Linked DNA regions of Homo sapiens: region 2 is linked to region 1. Evidence: promoter capture Hi-C in 16 types of primary human blood cells and fetal thymus (Javierre and others, 2016). All regions are on one chromosome and are shown on one strand. The core of a region is centred on a gene start or on the middle of the fragment in contact, and the rest is flanking DNA. Distances in the headings are between cores, read along the strand shown.

The links. Contacts are between HindIII fragments. The CHiCAGO score rates a contact against its expected background, and 5 or more counts as called.
Region 2: a contact is called between the fragment with the promoter of UFC1 here and a fragment that was not itself captured in region 1, in 2 of 17 cell types (M0 macrophages and M2 macrophages). The highest score is 5.9, in M0 macrophages.

The regions. Positions count from the first base shown.
Region 1 is chr1:161,361,051-161,365,004 of GRCh38, reverse strand. SDHC (succinate dehydrogenase complex subunit C) reads right to left here. Exons shown (of 6, transcript NM_003001.5): 6 at 1,799-2,676. The coding sequence ends at 2,572. It overlaps CFAP126 (cilia and flagella associated protein 126), which reads left to right. Exons shown (of 5, transcript NM_001013625.4): 5 at 1-272. The coding sequence ends at 40. Among named protein-coding and RNA genes, the nearest start is that of CFAP126, 4.8 kb to the left of the region's middle. The HindIII fragment of the contact is 1,452 bases long and covers 1,509-2,960 here.
Region 2 is chr1:161,152,352-161,156,305 of GRCh38, reverse strand. UFC1 (ubiquitin-fold modifier conjugating enzyme 1) reads right to left here and starts at 2,328. Exons shown (of 6, transcript NM_016406.4): 1 at 2,186-2,328. The coding sequence starts at 2,308. RefSeq lists enhancers at 2,021-2,410, 2,451-2,500, 2,591-2,640, 1,529-2,728, 1,966-2,746. The HindIII fragment of the contact is 16,464 bases long and covers 1-3,954 here.

The sequences.
Region 1 (3,954 bases), core at 985-3,484:
AGGTCATACTCCAGGTCCCCAAAGACCAGCCAAATCCTAAGAGCCCACCTGGAAGTCCACGTATGCTAGAACTCTGGGCAGGGCCTAATCTAGCTGAGGTCCAGAAATACAAACCTGGAACTTCATATGGACCAAGTGGCCACACACTGAAAAACCCGTATAGCGACTCAGTGAAATAAACAAGAGCCCCCAGTCAGAACTGTGAAACAGGGAAATTTTGGGGTGGGAGTAAAAGCAAATTTGGAAAATAAACTTTTTTTTGTTGAATCTTTTACTGATCTGGATTTTCCATTCTTGCTATGGCTGCCTCTTGTAACACAATTAGGAGAAGGAAGGTAGGAGAAAATAAAGTAGGGAAAAGAACATACAGTGGTTTGGGTGGAACACATTTTTACAAGAATTGAGTCAGTTATACTCCAGAAATGACCAAGAGAAAGTTGGTCTGAATCATGGAAAAAGGGCAGAACCTCAAAGAACCAGTCCCTCAACCCTACCCACTCATTTTTTATCCTGAGCATGGACAACTAACAACTACAAAATCAGAAATAGAATTGAGTAGAGTATGTATATGTGTGTTTGGAGAAGGTGGGGAAGAAAAGGTAGGGAAAACCAAAGTAGAAGATACTATGCTTGTGTAAGACTTTCTATCTAAGCCCAAGTACAAATATAGTTTGAAAATTGAAGATATTAAAGTGATTGGAAGACAGAGAAGAAAAAGACAGTAAGTAGAAATTTAAGGCAGAATAACAAACATGATGCTCTGTCACACCCCCCACCCACCCACTACCATGCTTCAATCACCCAAATGGTACGAAACCACCAAAAAATTCAACTGCCCTACCCATTTTCCAGCCTCTAACAGCTGTTTATCATTGACCCCATTTTATATTTTCCTGGCACTGGCTGTTAAATTTAATGCCCTTGCCAAACCTTTCCCAGTCCCAATGACAAAGTGTTCTGTCATGATCACTTGTCCCTCATTCCAAGGACAAAGTAGAGAACAGCTGGTTTAAAATGGAGGAAAGGTACAAGGACTTCCCAGGGCCCCTCTAGTAAAAAGGGAAAACCAATCATTACTTAAAGCCAAATACTATTTGGGACCCTGAATGAAGACTGTTAAAACAGCGGGTCCCCACCTTAACTAAGGTCTTCCTATCCAATTGACACCAGCCAGTTAACATTTCCCCTCTTCGACCCACAGCTTTAACTGGCTGGCCAACAACTCGAAGTGACAGATGAGATAAGTCTCTTATTCCAGAGTTCCCAAAAACTATCAAAACAGCATGCCTGCTAAAGCCTGGCCTATATGGATTTTAAAAGCAGCAAGTTTTCTCATTAAATTATACATTTTTGCCAGGTTTTCAACAATCCCTTCTTTTTTAAAAAAAAACTCTATGCTTCATTCACCCCAAGCCTATAACCTCAGGTCATCATCCCCTAGCTGTCACCAACACTGGTCCTCTGTGCCCCTCAATGAATCATAATTTGCTGAACTGTACCATGAAGCTTATAATCAGTCCTTAATGGGATTTTGGTGCCTATAACCCAAAAGCACTCTACATGCGTCACTTCTTTTCTTTTTCTCCTTCCTTCTCTGAGGCTTTTCTGTGATATTTAAATCTCTGGCTAAGTTCTATCTGATTCCCTGAAAACTTTTCCAATGATGAGATGTAGGAGAACTGTTTCCCTCCTGGTAAAGGTCAGATTGCGGGGAGAGGGAGGATGTAAATGCCTGAGACCCGAGGGAAGAGGAGGAAATTGGTTCCTTCCCAACAGCCATTTTCTTGGTTTCTCTAGATTTCAAGGAGAGTCAAAGATAAAATGAGTATTTAATTCAGTTTCAGAAAAAAAGGGTACATTACTTCGATGAGAAAGCATAAAATTAAGAGGCTTTTCTGGAAATCCAAGAAAAAGAAATAACCATTAATATGTTCAATGATAATTTTCTAGATCTTCCTCGTGTCCAAAGCTATATATTTTCTCCTCAAAAGCAGCTGCTCCAAGAACTAACTAGCCCTCTTTATCTCCCTCTAGCTGGGACAGACTAATTCCCCTCCACCCCCACCTCTCTTCTTTCAATAACACTGTGTAGGTGTTAATGGCCTGGGCTCTCACCAATGAAGAGAATTGTCCTTTAAGCCAGCAACCCACAGGCAGTGGCACCCAAAGCCTCACCAACCCACCCCCCAACCCGGCCCATCCCCAGGGCAGAAGCCACAGAGCTGGCATTGTTTCCACTGTCTCAGGAAGAAGGAGCCAAAAGCTGACCCTCAGCACAAATCAAAGCCCAATATGGAGAGAGAATAACTGCTTCTAGGCCGAGAGTAGGCAAGCTGTGGGCAAAAAAGGGGAGTTTTTGCAGCCACCTCATCTTTAGAAACAAGGGGAAAACTAGACCCTTTTCCACTATTATGGTCTACCAGGTACTCTACTGCTCCAAGGAGATCTGAAAATACAAAAGGATCTAAACAAATAAGGAGAACTTTTCCCAGGCTGGAGATAAGAATGACAAACAGAAAGATGGGTGAATGTAATAATGTGTAGGAAGATGATGCTGGGAGCCTCCTTTCTTCACATGGCTGCCAGCCCCATAGAGGACAACACAGTAAGAACCAGGACAACCACTCCAGACTGGTATAGCTGGGGAATCTTCAGGCCTTTTCCTAGGTCCCACATCTGTGGACAAAGCAAAAAAAAAAAAAAGGAATTTCAGTAAATAGGACATTAACAGTTCCTGTCTCAGAAAGTAATTCTACCTAAAGGAATAGATATCTCCTCTCAGCATGATTCTAGAGAAAAGCGCTTCTACCCTTATGCCCCACCTTTACCCTTCTCAAAACCCACAGTATGGAACCTATTATCCACTTATTCCAATGACAGAAAATCAGGTTCTATTGTGTGGTGATGGTAGGAGGAATGTTCTCTAGAATGCCACAGGCCCCATACGGTATACAAAAGCTTCCAGAATGAATAGATACAACTTTTCCTCAGGACCACACATCTAGATTAATGTTTCTCAAGGTGTATTCTTCCAAACACTTGCTCTCAGAATGTTGAAAGCCATTGTATGGGCCAAAAAAAAAAAAGTTCTGTGGTCATACAAAGTTCATAAACATTTAACTGCAAGACTTTCTAAACAGTTTTTTTTTTTTTTTTTTTTTTGAGACGGACTCTCACTCTGTCGCCCAGGCTGGAGTGCAGTGGCATGATCTCAGCTCACTGCAAGCTCCACCTCCCAGGTTCATGCCATTCTCTTGCCTCAGCCTCCCAAGTAGCTGGGACTAGAGGCACACGCCACCACGCCTGGCTAATTTTGTTTTTGTATTTTTAGTAGAGATGGGGTTTCATCGAGTTAGCCAGGATGGTCTTGATCTCCTGATCTCGTGATCTGCCCGCCTTGTCCTCCCAGAATGCTGGGATTACAGGCGTGAGCCACTGCGCCCAGCCTCTTACAGTTTACTAATGCACACTGTGAATCTCCAAAAGAGAGATATAATATGCCTGATTTCCTAGATACAGTCAATCTCAGAATCTTTTTATAGAGGGAAACTCTATTTATCAGAGGACTAGTATTCTAAAGGATACTCTGAGATCTAGAACACTATTTCTCAATTTTGTTTTGACTGTGACTCCACTAAGAAATACCTTTAAAACTGGAACCCAATAGATATGTATATATAATATAGCAAAAGTTGATAAAACAATATTTACCATTACTAAGTGGTGCCATATATATACAAGTATATATTTATATATTTTATATATAAATAAACTTCATTAAAAAACATATATTTTCTCCTTTTTGTGGAGAACGGGGTCTCATTATATTGTTCAGGCAGGTCTTGAACTCCTGGACTCAAGCTATCCTCCTGCCTCTGCTTCCCTAAAAGCTGGCATTACGGGCGTGAACTTCTGCACCCAGCCACTCCAGTGGCGCCATCTTGGCTCACAGCA
Region 2 (3,954 bases), core at 1,079-3,578, 210 kb after region 1:
GCCCACCTTGGCCTCCCAAAGTGCTGGGATTAGAGGCGTGAGCCACCACGCCCAGCCTACTTTTTCTTAATATGTTTACCTAATTTTTCTAACATTAGCAAAGCTGAAGACAAGGCTATACTGGTAAGTGGGGGTCTGCCCAGAACAGAGAATAGAATGGGCTCCACTCAATTTAGCAAGCACAAAAGACCTGAAGATACCATCTGGATTCTCCTCTCACTTCTCTGATAGTGTCTGCCCTCAGCCCACAACTCATTTAATGATAGACTCCTTCCCTGGGTAACTCCCTTCTAGCCTCATATAGTCCTGGTTTCAACTAACACCCACAGGCTAATGACTCCCAGATTTTCATCTTTGGTCCAGATCTTTCCTCAGAACTTCAGCCTTTAGTATCCAACTGTATGTTGACGTTTTGACCTTCATTTCACAGGTACTTCAAACTCAGCATTTCCATCTGGAATTTTTTATATTCCTTTGGATACACTTCCTGAATTATCCTCCTGAATTATCAATTTCAGGTGGCAGTATGAGCATTCACCCAAGGCAAAAACCTGGGAATCATCTTTGACCCTCCCTATCCCTTACTACACTAATCCATGTTATGCTAATTTTACCTTCTGAATATTCTACAAATCTACCTCTCCTCTCTATCCTCACAACTGCCTAGTTTAGATTGCCTTTTGTTTCGCTGAGATTAATGACAGCCTAACTTGTCTCTTACCTTCAGTCTTGTCCCTGTCAATTGTATTTTCCCCTTATTGCCAATGTGACTGATCTAAACCCAAATCGGCCATGTAATTCCTCAGCTTAATAACTTTTAACGGTATCCCAAAGCCTCCAAGAGAAAATTCAAGTGCTCAAATATGTCTCCTAGCTTTGTCTACCATTCCCTGCCTCACATTTGATGCTCTAACAACTCTGAGCTACTTTGTTTCTTCAAACACATCATGCTGGTGCCTGTGCCGTTTCTAGATTCTATGCCTTTGCTCATGCTGTCCCTTTTGGCTTGAATGTCCTTCTACTCTTATGTTTTATCAGGCTAGCTTATGTTTACTCTTTAAGTTTCAGCTCAAGCATTACCTCTTCCAGGAAACCTTCCGTGACCGAATGCAAACTGGATGTCTCCTCTTATGCTCTCAAAACATCCTAGCCATTTCTCGCTTTATATCTGTCCATATCTGTCTCAGTCTCTCTCCACTTAAACACTGTATTATAATGATCTGGTTTTGTCTACCTCAGTAAGTTCCTCCTTATTCGGCTTGGTATCTCCTCCCTAGGTTCTATATGCACAGTAATTTTTTTTTTTTAGTGAATGAATACATGAGGTAGGAGAACTAGAACTGCTGGTCTTTGAAGCAGGCAGAAACTACAAGGAAGACAAACTTTTCTCACCTTCCACAGTAGAGATAACTGAGAAGACAGCCCGTTTCTAACTATGAGCTAAACTCCCCAACTCTCTGTAGTTAACACCTACTTGAATTTTCAGCCCTAATGTGGCTTGAAAGAGTGAAGAGTGAGGCCAGGCGCGGTGGCTCACGCCTGTAATCTCAGCACTTTGGGAGGCCGAGGCGGGTGGATCAGGATCACGAGGTCAGGGGATCGAGACCATCCTGGCCAACACGGTGAAACCCCGTCTCTACTGAAAATACAAAAATTAGCTGGGTGTGGTGGCGCGCGCCTGTAGTCCCAGCTACTCAGGAGGCTGAGGCAGGAGACTCGCTTGAACCCGGGAGTCGGAGGTTGCAGTGAGCCGAGATCGCGCCACTGCACTCCAGCCTAGCAACAGAGCGAGACTCCGTCAAACAAACAAACAAAACAGTGAAGAGTGAAGAAGGGGGCAGAGAGATGCGGACTGGGAGTTGGCGCCCTGAGGATTTTTGTTCACATCCAGGTGAACAAACACCTGTAGCCAGGGAGACACGTCACCTTCTGGGGAAGCGTATCCCTAAAATAACTGCTGCTTTTAGCCGCAAGGTCTGGCCCCACTGTGCACCTCACCCGAGTCTTTTTTGCCCTCTCCCCACCATCCCTCCTTAGTCCCCGAGCCCCACAATAGTCCCATTTCTATGAATTTGGGCGTTAAACTTAAAAACCGGAAGCGGCTTCCACACGGAGCCTATTATTGAGGACACCTGATTTCTCCCAACCCTTATGCTACGCGTTAGACTGTAGAAACACAACTAACCCGGATAAGGGACTGATATTCCTCCTTCAGTCGCTGCACCCACAACTCACGATCTCGGGGTCCGGCGTTAGTCTTCAGCACCGGGATCTCAGACACAACACGTCGCGTGGCTTCATCCGCCATCTTGGACCAGGGCGCAAGAGAAACGCGGAAGTGGTGTTGCCTGTAGCTTACCTCAAGGCGCCGTCATCTTTACTATGGGAAGATGAGACGTTGGGTTGCTGTAAGACCTCTTTTGAATAAGATCTTTGTTTTCTTGTCACCTAGTTACCCGCTTGTGAGTGCATCGAGAAGAACAGAATGTAAACAGATTACTCCGTCCTATATATGACACCTATCATTAAAATCACCGCATAAGGCACAAAGGGTGACTTCCGTTCATGCTCAGAGAAGTAATCGCAGAAAACCCGGACACCTTCCCAAACTTGGAAAGCTCTTAGAACTTCAGGCTGCTGAAGGCATTTTTACTTATTTATTTATTTTTATTATACCTTAAGTTCTAGAGTACATGTGCACAACGTGCAAGTTTGATACATAGGTATACTTGTGCCATGTTGGTTTGCTGCACCCATCAACTCGTCATTTACATTAGGTATTTCTCCTAATGCTATCCCTCCCCCAGCCCCGAGCCCCCAACCCCAAGGCGCTTTTCAAGGCACTGACTTCCTAAAACGAGCGATTCGTGTTTCCTCTTCGAAGAACTTTTCCTTTGCTTATATATAGTCCTGCCTCTAGATGCAGTTATCCTGTAGAAGGATGTTTAACTCCTGATAAAGATTAGAAACCATGCAGAATCAAAAGACAAATCCCTGCAAGATTTCTGCCTTAGTCTAGCCATTCACTGAGTCCTAGACTTTTTTTTTTTTAGACAGTGTCTCAATCTGTTGCCCAGGCTGGAGTACAGTGGTACGATCATAGCTTACTGCATCTTCCATCTCCCGGGCTCAAGCGATCCTCCTGCCCCAGCCTCCCCAAAGTGCTGGGATTACTTGTGGGGAAACAATAAACAAACTCCAGTTGGACTTAAAATCTAAACACATTAATTTTTGCTTTTTTTTTTTTTTTTTTTGGAGACCGAGTTTCACTCTTGTTGCCCAGGCTGGAGTGCAATGGCATGATCTCGGCTCACCGCAACCTCCGCCTCCCGGGTTCAATTGATTCTCCTGCCTCAGCGTCCTGAGTAGCTGGGATTACAGGCATGTGCTACCACGCCCGGCTGATTTTGTATTTTTAGTAGAGACCGGGTTTCGCCATGTTGGCCAGGTTGGTCTTGAACTCCTGACCTCAGGTGATCCACCTGCCTCAGCCTCCCAAGGTGCTGGGATTACAGGCGTGAGCCACCGCGCCGGCCATTTTGGCTTTAATTTAAATATCCTGTTTGGCTGGCGTGGTGGCTCAAGCCTGTAATCCCAGCAACTTGGGAGGCCAAGGCAGGTGGATCACTTGAGGTCAGGAGCTCCAGACCAGCCTGACTGGTGAAACCCGTCTCTACTAACAATACAAAATTAGCTAGGCATGGTGGCGCACGCTTGTAGTCCCGGCTACTTGGAGGCTGAGGCGGGAGAATCGCTTGAACCCGGGAGGCGGAGGTTACAATGAGCCGAGATCCTGCCATTGCACTCCAGCCTGGGCAACAAGAACAAGATTCCGTCTCAAAAAATAAATAAAACCTAAAAACGTTAATTATAGATTTAAATATCTTGTTTGGCCGGGTGCGGTGATTCACGCAGATAACCCCAGCACTTTCAGAGGCCGGGGTGGGCAGATGG